Linked DNA regions of Homo sapiens: region 2 is linked to region 1. The links are contacts of gene promoters, found by promoter capture Hi-C in blood cells and fetal thymus (Javierre and others, 2016). All regions are on one chromosome and are shown on one strand. The core of a region is centred on a gene start or on the middle of the fragment in contact, and the rest is flanking DNA. Distances in the headings are between cores, read along the strand shown.

What was found. The method cuts DNA at HindIII sites, captures the fragments that hold promoters and counts their contacts. A CHiCAGO score of 5 or more calls a contact.
Region 2: a contact is called between a fragment that was not itself captured here and the fragment with the promoter of GREM1 in region 1, in 3 of 17 cell types (M1 macrophages, M0 macrophages and M2 macrophages). The highest score is 7.1, in M1 macrophages.

What each region holds. Positions count from the first base shown.
Region 1 is chr15:32,715,131-32,720,974 of GRCh38, reverse strand. It overlaps GREM1 (gremlin 1, DAN family BMP antagonist), which reads right to left and starts at 2,971. Exons shown (of 2, transcript NM_013372.7): 1 at 2,814-2,971. GREM1-AS1 (GREM1 antisense RNA 1) reads left to right here and starts at 2,110. Exons shown (of 2, transcript NR_109767.1): 1 at 2,110-2,430; 2 at 2,611-2,874. RefSeq lists enhancers at 1,671-2,248, 2,249-2,827, 2,965-3,465. The HindIII fragment of the contact is 6,086 bases long and covers 1-4,719 here.
Region 2 is chr15:32,832,027-32,838,038 of GRCh38, reverse strand. The region is part of intron 17 of FMN1 (formin 1); the gene reads left to right. It also overlaps the pseudogene LOC107984761. Among named protein-coding and RNA genes, the nearest start is that of GREM1-AS1, 120 kb to the right of the region's middle. The HindIII fragment of the contact is 2,093 bases long and covers 3,103-5,195 here.

The DNA.
Region 1 (5,844 bases), core at 1,722-4,221:
ATGTTGGTCAGGCTGGTGTCGAACTCCCGACCTCAGGTGATCCGTCCTCCTTGGCCTCCCAAAGTGCTGGGATTACCGGTGTGAGCCACTGTGCCTAGCCCAGCCAGCAGTTTAAACCCAATTCTATCTAGCCCCAAACACAGGTCCTTAACCACTGTCCTATTGACACCCAGTGCTGTCCTTAACAGTGGGTCAATGGATATGTTTTCTAATGCAATACAATTTGAAGAGTGCTATAAATAAAATAATTATCTATTTTGTATCTTCATGTTCACATGTGAATAAAAAGATTTCTCTTGTCCCAGGAATTCCTGTTGTACTTTGAATTTCTAAGAGCATATGTTAAAACTAAAGAAAATTCCTTGCAGATCGAAGACACGGGCTGGTAGCACTTGCCTGATGGTTGCCTTTTGGTTAGAGGCTGCAGTCACCTCCCCTAACCACTGTCCCCCACCTGCCTTTCCTTTACATAAAAGGTTTATATTTCCTGGCTGTCCTTTACTCTCTGTTGTGGAACATGTTCCACAGCTTTGCTGTCAACAAGCAGTTCTTGGGGGAGGTGTCTGCGGCATGAAATTTCTTTGCATTTTATCACTTTTAATACTTGACCATTCAGACTGAAGGCATCTTCGGCTTAGTTTCAAAGACAGGGTAGGCAGCCCTCATTCAGAGATGTAGGACATAAAAGGTTTTTATCCTTCCCTGTGTAACTACTCACATAAAGACCGCATTAGCCAACCTGGATTTCCTACAGAGCGTGGGTTACCAAAACATTTCACTAAAAATGAACTTTTAAGAAAATAGGAAACCTGTGAAATTACAAAGTTTACAAAAGACTCTAATTCCTACAATGACCTGGAGGTTAAACACACACACACAGACACACACACACACACGCACACATACTGCCACTACCCTGCTAAAAATCCCTGAAATAGTTAATATTAACAATTTGACAGTGCCATTTATCCAGAGATAGTAATCAAATCACCTACTGTTATAGACTTGGCTTGGGGGGCAGTGAGAATATATAGTTTTCTTAAGATCTTTCCCTCCTTGCTTTGAAAAGTACATCCCCCCCTCAAGACTCTCATGCTCCCCCTCCTTCCAAAAAAAGAGAAAAGGGGAGGGGGAAGCCCTAGGGATGAAAGAGGACTCCTCACCCTAGAATGGGGTTATCTTAACCTCTTCTACGCTATTTATTTAACTTGTGTGTACAGCCAGAAGGAAGCCACTACTCTGGGGTCCCTGGGACAGCTTAAAACCCTAGTGACCCACTTAACACAATAGATTGTTTTAATCAGTTCGTGTCCTGGCACCATCTCGAAGGGGAACATAAACAGACGCGCACACCGCTCAGATTTGCTCTTTCCAGCAGGAGATCCAATTACCTATCGGTGGTCACCTCTCTGCCCTCGGACCGTTTAAGAGGGGGATTTTAACCCCTAACGCTGAGGCTGTATTTCTGTCTATAAGAGCCGAGATTCGGAGTCGGTCGAGGAGGGGAAGGCAGTAGACGGATTCGACCCGGGAATGCATTAGGGACAGCTCCGGGCGCGCAGGAATTTCTTCACAGCAGAGGCTGGTCACCTGCCGTCCGTCCCTCCCCGCCTGGCCCGGTGACCGTCGCCAGAGCCTGGCGCAGGCAAATAAACGCCAAGCTGGGGCACCCCCAAGGAGGAGCTGCGATCCGAAGGCAATGCCAAGCGAGAGCGGTGGCGCGTCTGTTCTTCCGGAGTCTGTAGTCTACAAATAACTCCGGCCAGCAAGGAGGTGACAGCCCCAATATACCTCCCACTCCCCTGCTATGGCCTTGCTCCGCAAGCTGTGGAGGGGCCAGCGGAGCCAGCCAGGCAGCGAGAGAGAACGAAAGACGCCCAGCTCGTTGCAGCCGCCAACCCGCCTCAGCCGCCAGTCCCTAGTCCTCAGGAGCTAGTGAGGCGCTGCAAGGCGAGGCTGGGGCCTCTAGAACACAGTTTAAGGGGTGCGCGCGGAAGTGGGAACCAGCCGGTGGCCGCTGCCCGGCGCCAGAACGTCTACCATTCAGCCCGGGCGTGCGCGGGGCGGGGAAGAGGCTGGAGTAGAGAAGCGAGCGCCCGCGAGTGCGTGGCCGGTCCGCGAGCGCGTGTGGTGTCTGCCTTGTGAGCACTGCGGGTTCGCTGGACCCCGCGGCCAGGGCCGCGCCCCGCACCGCAGCTGTCGGATTACCCACCGTTCGGTTTTCCGCTGTGGCTGAACACAGCGGCTCTGCCCTTGCCAGTCTCCATCTCACCTCGGGGATCGGCAAATGCACACATCATGGATTCTCCGGATGCTCCAACCCGCGGACTCCAATGGGCGCCCCAAGACGCCCCCAGACCCAGCGCGGCGCCCCAAGCACATGGGACCCTCTCAAGGCAACTCGCCGCGCAGTCAGCGGCCGACTAGCAGGTCCGGATGCTCCTGCGCTCTGGCGGCCTGGACTTCGCGCCCTCGCTAAGCGGGCGCGTCTGCCAGGCGCTGCTGCCACCAGCACCAGGAGCGTGTTCGGGGGCCTCCGGGAGGTGGAAACGGGATGTGGGGGTCATCCTGCCCGCTCCTGACAACTTTTTTTCCTACGTTTCCCTGCAGACCCAGAGCAGCGAGGTCACGGTGTCCGCGGCCTCAGCAGGAAGGACCCCGCGATGGTTCTTCACAATTCACCCCCGCGAACAACGCACCCGAGCCTGCGCGCACGGAGGGCTGCCGCGCGTGGAACTGAGCGGGTCCTGGGTTGGTTTGCGGCCCTCTTCCCTCCGCCCACTCACATCCCTGCCGGGTGCGTCCGCGCTCACCTGTCAGTGCGGCGGGTCCTCGGGGCCTGCGCTTTCGACGCGTGGCGCTGAGTGCGGCCGCGGCCAGAGCCGCCGGGGCTCGGCGCGGGGTCAGCGGGACCGAGAGTGACGCGGCGGCCGTGCACTGGGTCGCCCGGTCCGCGGAAGGCGCACCGAGTGCCAGGCATCGCGCCGTCTCCCGTTTAAATGCCGGCGGCAGAGCGCGGCGCCCGGGGCCGCGCCTCTCCATTGGCCAGGCGCCGCCGCCGCCGCCAGACCCGCTATCCGCCCCCTTTCCCGGTACTGCCCCCGCCCCCCGCACCCCTCCTGCTTCCCCGCGGGGTCCCCTCTCCGCCCGCCTCGCCTCTTTGTCTGCTCCCCCCGCCCGGGCCGGCTGGGAGAGGTCACCCCAGGGAACCGCGCCTGGAATGCACAGCAAATCACATTTTCCGCTCCCGTTGGAGAGGGAAGAGCGGGAGGAAATCCCCCCGGCTGGCGGCCCCTCATTCCTTCTCTGCCCCAGGTCTGGGCTTTCCCTGTCGGCCGCCCGGCATCGCCTGCGTTGGTCCCGCGCTCAGTAGCGGAGACTGCGCTGGGAAGAGCGAGATCTCCGTGGGATCGTGCCAGATTCGGCCATTCTTCCCCTCTGGAGGGAACGGGACTGCGGGATGCTCTGGTCGAGCGGCCGTCGTGGCTCCCCGGCGGCCCCGCCCGAGGCCCCCAACTTCGAGGGCGCTGACCCCGGCGCCCCCGTTAACCTGGCGGGCTCGCTGGCCGCCAGCAGGAGCCTGTCGCCAACATGACACCCTGCTCTCCTCGCCCGCCAAGGGTTCTTTCAGCCCAGATGCCGGCGGCCTCCCCTGTGAGTGTACAGAGGGGAGTCACGGGAGGAGAATAAAACTAAATGACCGTCAAAAGTCAAGGCTTCTGTTCCTAAATTATCTTAAGAGACAGAGAGAAAACAGCCACTGGGCGAGAGGGGTTTTCTGTAGCATATCAAAGACGAATAAGTCAGGAAAATAAAACGTTAGATGAGGAAGTAACTTCCCAGAAATTTAGGACAAAAACCTACCGACGTGTAAAACCAATGTCACATTCCGGATACCAAGTACATAAATAGTTTTCGAAAGATGAGCGAACACTTTCATTTGTTCTCTTAGCCTGAAAAATTGGTTCCTCAAAGAGGCCGTAAGTTTTGTGTGTTGAAGCTAAAGTCCGTGCAAAAATTAACACGTCTGCAAGATCTGCAGACCAGCTCCATCAGCCACGTCAAATGAAGACTTTGAAAAAGATTTGCTACAGAAGGAAATATGAAGGTGTCTGTATTGTCTAACGCGAAATAAACAAAACAATGAAATCCATCAAAAGATACTTACGAAACACCCGTAATTTAAGTACTTGACTAGGAAAACAAAACCAGACCAGAAAACAGCCTATTTTTTTTTTCTCTTTAGTCCGGCGTTAGGGGGAAGAAGCAAGAAACATCTACTAGATGCTGTTAGGAACGTGAAATAGATATTTTTAAATAAATGAAGCAAGAAGGACGTCTGCATTAGTATCCTTAAAATCTTAGTCCTCTCAATGTTTTGTTTGTGCAGATGGCAGTTTCTACACATGAACTCGAGGCTGCACTTTACAATTCTCAATCAGTTGTTGTTAAGTCATGCAGTGAGCCACAGTTTGTAGTTGCCTACAGAATGGGAGCATTGAACCAGCTTGAAGACCTGTCTTGCTCACGTGGGCTCCTGGAGAGATAGGTAATCAGAAATACACAAAATACTTAGGCGATGACCAGTTCAGTCGAAGCCCACCACCAAGCTGTATTGGAGCCAGCTGTTCTCCCAACGTGCAAACTGCTGTACTTCTCCCCACAAAAGGGAGCATATTTTACAAATTCATTAAGTCCTCCTCATCTAAAATAAAAGCTTTAGTCACTTCTTTTTTTCCCAAGACTTATATACTGCCCCAAATCAAATACAAAGAAGCTGAAATTACCTCCCAAAATGGAAGTGATTTTTTTTTTTTGGAGCCCTGACACTGTGGTTTTCTCTATCTCCATGTATCAAATCATGATGACTCTTCCTCATGCAGTTTCTCAGGCCATATTTTTTATAATAGAGCCCCCACCTCCTCCCCACAACACACGCCCCCTCTCTGTATCCCAAAGAGATAGAGAGGGCTATGCATCACTGCATCATTTTTCTTCATTCTCATTTCTCTCTCCCTTCTCCCTGGCATTATAGTATTTCCTGCCACTAGAATGTAAGGTTCATAAGGGCAGGGATTTTGTCTAGGTCACTTTGATTACATGAAGCACATAGAATATAGATTGTCTAACACAGCACTCAGATTCAATAAATAGTTGTGGATTGAGAATGTTGAGCACATTCCCACTAAGATTGTCAGCTGAACCAAATGCTGAGGGTATAACCATCGTGGATAGGATAAACACAGGCCCTCACCTCAAAGAATTTATAGTCTAGTATGTTTGTAAATATTTATATAGAAACACAAGTTTTTTGCCCAATATTTGTGTTTCCACAGCTCCTAACAAGTTCTTGCAAACCATTGTCCAATCAGGAGGAAGGCATAAGGATAAAAACTCCCTAGACCGCTCTAAACATGGTTACATAACTAAAACCTGCTTTTAGTAAGGGGAGAAGAAGTAGAATGACTCGATGTAGTCATGCCTAAACCATGATGCCTAAACCACGATCACTAAATGATTAATTTTATTTAATGAAAGTACTTTCAAACTACTTTGAGGTTGTGAGAAGAGTAGATTCTGCTCAGCCACTGGTTCGTAAAAGTAAAGTCCATTTCCTCTTTTTTTGCCCACCTGTGTTTGGAATGTGCTAGCCTCTCTGTAACCCCAAGAAGCTAAAAGAGGGCTACTCCCCAGGTTTGGAGAATAACTTTGAAGACCTTTAGAGAAGAGTTTTTACTTAGATCTGCAAAAGCTATTTACAGCTGTTCATCCAATTGCAGAGACTACGTATGCTGTCTTGCATAGGATTAAAAAAGAATAAAGCCCTTTACACAGTTGGAACTG
Region 2 (6,012 bases), core at 2,900-5,399, 120 kb before region 1:
GCCCTCCACCTCAGCCTCCTAAAACCTTTGAAGTTCTTCAGACTGGAAGTGTCTCTGGATCATGCTACATAAATGAGGCAATAGCACTTGGGATCCATTCAGCATGAGGACTGTGGAAATGATAGTCTTTCTCCCATTTTGCCCTAGGATGGGCATCTGTTGATGGGCAAGGAATTAACAGAGAGCACATCCCATTCTCTGTGACCAATCACTACTATTCTTTTTCAGTTGTTCATTCAGCATTTATAAGTTATCTACTATATGTGAGACTCTGAGGAAAAAAAGAAGAATCAGACACTATTCCAGTCTAAAAGACCCTATATATCTGACGCAAAATCTTACTCCACCTTTCAGGAGCATTAGATATAGCTGATCAAATGATGGATTGAAAACTCCTTCTTGCTTTAGGTCCTAACCCTCTTTTGTCTTCTCTCTACTTCATGGGCATTCCTCAATCTCCTAAGCTGGTTCTTCATCTTCCCAATCTCTAAACACAAGAGGGCTTCAGGACTCAGTCCATGAACCCCTTGCCTTATCACTGGGGTTGCTGAGGTGCATAGAACCTTGAGACTTTCTGATGGATCAAGCATATAATAAAGAGACTGAGGGAGACAAGAGAAGTCACTGTCGCCAGAGTTAGATTCACTGCCACCGCCACCCCCAGGAGCCGCCAGAACCCTTATGTCGCCACCACCACCCAGATCCCTGCACCATGACATCAGAGAAGACCTTCAGGCCACACCACACCTTTGAACAAAGAGTAGAAGTTTGACTTCTCCGAGAGCAGCATCCACCCAAAATCTTGGTAGTAACAGAACGATACAAGGCTGAGAAGCAGCTTCCCGTCCTGGATAAAGCAATGTTCCTTGTACTGGACCACATCAACCTGAGTGAGCTCATCAAGATCATTAGAAGGTCCTTCCAGCTCAGTGCTAATCAAGCCTTCCTCCTGGCGGTGAACAGACACAGCATTGTAGCAGAGTGAGAAGGATGAAGATGGATTCCTGTACATGGTCTGTGTCTCCCAGGAGACAATTGGAATGAAATTGTCAGTGTAAAACTGAAAAAAAAAAAATGCATCTATTTTAGAATTTTTAAACCTTTACCAAGGAAAAAATAAAGGAATGTTACCCACTGAGATCGATCAGTTCATCTAATCACAGATCGTCAAACAGTAGTGTTCCCACCTAGGAGTGTCAGGAAGTTGTGTTTGTATTTGAAGCAGAAAACTGGGCTCCAAGTGAGCACGTTCAGCTTTGGAAACTATGTTATTTAACATAGGCTAGCTTGTTTTCAGATTTTAAAAGTTTAAAAAGAAAATACTTTGCATTCTAAAAAAAAAGAGAGAGACTGAGGGAGATGTATGCTCAAGCAATGGGTGTATCCTCTTGTTCTTCACCAAACAAGGGGAAAGTTTTACATTCATTTACATTCATTTTACAAGTTTGTAAGACATATACAGCTTAGGGAGAAAAATATGAAGGCCTCGGTTCTGGGGAGAAAGCATGCGGGCATTTGTAGTACTGAGACTAAAAGTAAGGGGAGAAAGAGTTGCTGAGGTAAAGCTAAGTTAGAATATGAATTATTGCTACTATAAATGACACTAAATAGAACCTGTGAAAAAGGAGAAAATGTGAACTATACTATCCTCCTAAATAAAAGTAAATTATGATACCAAAAGCTTTTAAAAGTTTTGCCATTCCCAAACCGCCATGCAGTTGGCTTTGTGACTTTGGACATTCTCAGAGGGAAGGCATCACCTTTTAGAGTTTGTGAATTTGAATGAGTTTGGGTTTGTTTGGAAGCAGAGCTACATCAGAAATCTAGTCCCTTTCTTCCTAAAAGCACAAGGCTGCTAGTGAGCAGCCTTGTAATCCCAGCTGTGAGCAGTCGCTCACACCTGTAATCTCAGGACTTTGGGAGGCTAAAGTGGGAGGATCACCTGAGGCCAGGAGTTCAAGACGAGCCTGGGCAACATAGGGAGGCCACATCCTACAAAAAATTTTAAAAACTGGCTGGGCCATGATAGCATGCATCTGTAGTCCCAGGTACAGAGAGGCTGAGGTGGGAGGAACACTTGAGCCCAGAAGATTGAGGCTGCAGCGAGCCATGATCATGCCACTGCACTCCGGCCTGGGTAACAGAGTGAGAACCTGTCTCAAAAAAATAATAATAATAAAATAAAAACAGAAAAAGAAGAACAGTGTGAAAGATAATGCATGAAAAGCTCTTTCTTTCTTATTTTCATGACTTTACAAGCTTCACTTTCTGCCTTCCCATTTTGTACCACACAGACATTTACCACTGGGAATCTTCCTTGTCTGTGTCCCAAGGTTATCTGAACACCAAAGTTACACTTAAGAAGGAAAGGTTGTCAACTCAGGAGGATTGAAATAGAATTCCCTTGGAATCACCCCATAACATCTATTTGAAAACAAACCCTTCCAAACCATCACATCATGGAAATCACAGTCCATGGTGAGAAAACTGCCAAGTTTTTGAGGTTGCAACTTAGAACACACACCAAAAAAGTGTGTCTTCATCTCCAAGCATCTTTGGTTTGGAAATTGGGATAATAGGGCATCTGATCAGGCTTCCTCAAAGAATATCCAGTATTTTCCCGGCTTCCGGCAGCAGAAACCTGGTTGGTGGTCTAAGCCAGGAAGAAAAAGATATTTCACTTTGGAAGAGGAAAATAATTCTAAGTTTATTTTTTTAGAGCCACGATTTAGAAAAAATAATAAAATAAGAGATGCCTCTTATTTAAAATCAGTTTTCATTGTATCTGAATAGTCTGCTTTCCCTTGTTCATGAGTATCTGTGATTACGTGGTCAGGCCTGACACGTATCCCAGCTAGGCTGGGTGACATCCCTGTGTCCTGCCCTCTCCTCCAGCTCTTCCTCATGGGCCTGCTCACTAGCAGCCTTGTGCTTTTAGGTAGAAAGGGACTGGATTTTCTGATGTTGCTCTGCTTCCAAACAAACCCAAACTAATTTAAATTCACAAACTCTAACAAAGGTGATGCCTTCCCTCTGAGAGTATCCAAAGCCACAAAGCCAAACTGCAATGGCAGTTTCAGAACAGCAAGACTTTTAAAAGCTTTGGTGTCATAATGTTATCATTTTGAAGGGTTCACCTGAATAAAAGCCTTAGATTTCTCTGTGTGGTGAATATGAAGCACCCATTCTAAAATTAACCAAGGTGATCAGAGGGAACTAGGGCTTCTCCCCTTTAAACAGTGATTCTGTTTTCAAGATCAGTGGAAATAAGAAAAAGATGGAAAACTATTTGTTCAAAGAAAGGTACTACCTAGATTACCTTTATTTTCTCACTTCTTGCTGCTGCTGCCTTGTCTTAGGGAAAAATTGCTGAAAATAATAACGGTGGGAGTAAGAGAAGGCTAAAAGGGAGATGAGTTTCAGCCACATTTGGAGAAAGGAAGAATTAGATGAACAGAGCTTGGATGATGGCAGTCGGTTTCTTTGTTTGGAGGAACTATTAATAGTCTTGATTTAGCCCTTGAGCTCCTGTTTTCTGTCTTTTGTTTGTGTTTTATCTGTCTGATTTTTTCCTCCTTGAGGCAGCTTGAAATGTGAAAGGGCAAGGGAACAGAGCTAACGTAGGGTGGAAACATGGTTATATGTAATTAAGGTCTTACTTCCTCAATTTGCTACTACTGAAGCCCAAGGGAGACCAAGTTCTGTTCCACACACCATGTGAGAGGAAGAGGTTGACTAAGATGAGCTAGGCAGTTTTATCAGCTTGTTGGTCAAGGGATGTAGGATCCTGAGATGGATTCAATATTTTGGTTGATATTAACAGAAATATAATTTTTAATTTTTTTCCAAAGAACCAGACAGAAGTTTAAGAAAAGAGTTTACCATCCAAGAATTTAATTTGCTTTTCATCAGAGTATGACAAAACAGGCATGCTAGGGTCCAGCCTCAACTAACCTGAGTTGGTGAAAGGAAACAGAACTGAATTGGAAATAAATGCCAGGAGGTTCTGAGAATCAGAAAAAATGATGAGAAGGGTCAGGGTGAAGATGACAAAGGGCGATGGTTCTCAAAATCCTGCTGCAGTGTGAGAAGTAGCTGCCTTTTAGTGTAAGGTCTGGGCTTATGGAGGAACCCAAGAGAGTAAGAATGGAGTCAGCAAATTCATATTTAAATGAATATGCCCACATTCCTTTGCCCTATTGATTCCAGAAGTTGAAATTGTGGCCTTTAATGTGTTTAAGCCCTTAGATCATTTGCTAAGAGTTCAGGGGGAAAAAAGCAGCTGGTTCATCTCTGGTATTTTCAGATGGGTTTTCTTTACAGAAGTTACTCATAAGTGGTATTTTCAATGGAGACCTTCAGAAAAAAGATGCTTGGATATCTCATCAGGTTTCAGAGAAGTGTTCAGACTTGTTAACCCTTTTAACTCAGCTAAATGTCCATTAAACCATAAAACAAAGTCCATTACACTTTTGGGCCGGGGACTTGAGTGACTGACTCACTCACCCTGGGATGTTGCTCATCTCCTGTATGGACTAATATTGGGGCTTATTAGATCATGGGGGTCAGAAGGCTCACTTCCTCTGTGCTTGGATGCTGGGGCTGTTTTGATGCTAGTTGGCTTTCTGTGGGTCTTCTCCCTTATCAGTAGAGGATACACCCCACTTCTCCAGATGAGTCCCTTATAAAACAGCTGCTGCTTCATAAGACATTCCCTTAACCCAAGCCCTTTCCTCCCTATCAGTTACACTAATTGAAGATCAAAACCATTTCCCCCCACCTCCCATTACGTATTTTCTACTTATCCTCTAAGAAAAGAATTACAGGTTAGGATTACTCTAGAAGTGGTAGCTGTCAGTAGAGGAATGACATCCTAAAATATGACCATTAGAGACAAGAAGAAATTAGAAAGCTAGCATGCAGTGGGCATTTAATAAACAGCTGCTGGGAGTGGTGGCGGTGGAGAAGAGCAGAGCAGAGGAGGAGGGGAGAAAGGAGGAGTTGTAAAGTGGGAAAAAGGAGCTAACACTTTAGAAGGACAAAATGGCGGCAAAAAAGTCTGTCCCTTGGTTTTCTCCCATTGACAAATCTAAGACTGATGATGTCTACCCTACTTCCTACCTCTCACAAAACAACATTAGAAGGCAACATATTTAGGTAACCCGGGGTCATAAAGGAGAGTTGAAATAGAAGCTTCAGCAAATAACCCCCGTATCATCAGGCCTTGGATTATCAGCAATTCCAAGCACTACCTGAGTCTCCATCTCAAAAAGCTCTTCCTTCTGCTGGCTGGAGTGCAGTGGCGCGATCTCAGCTCACTGCAACCTCCACCTCCCGGGTTCAAGCGATTCCCCTGCCTCAGTCTCCCAAGTAGCTGGGATTACAGGCACTCACCACCATGTCTGGCTAATTTTTTGTATTTTAGTAGAGACAGGGTTTCACCATGTTGGCCAAGATGATCTTGATCTCCTGACTTCATGATCTGCCCGCCTCGGCCTCCCAAAGTGCTGGGATTACAGGTGTGAGCCACCGCACCCAGCCCCCTCTGCCTTGAAAATACTCACAGCATCATCTCAACAGCCAATACACTGAAACCCCTCTCCACACTGAAGCACAGTTGTCTGTGAAGAAAAATTAGGGAAGCCATAGAGGAACAATAGCTCCTTTGCAAATTACAGCTTCATCAGAAGGAAAGTTGAGGCAGGCATATAGTATTTTATTTTATACACCACAAACAGACAACCCCTAGACTTGGAATTCAGAATTAACAAAAGCATTAAATCCATCGGGCTTTGAGAAGGGTCAATGTTTTTTCATATGTCTTCCCTGCTACCATTATTTGCATAACAAATCGCTGCAAAATGCATTCATGTCAGATGTTGGAAATAAACTCTTTGGGGTATAGCTATTTTTAAACAACCCATAGTTATACGGGTGTTTTTAAAACATTCAAAGCCTGAGTTTATGTTTCAAATCATAAGTGATCACAGGAACTCTATATTGTTGGTCTGG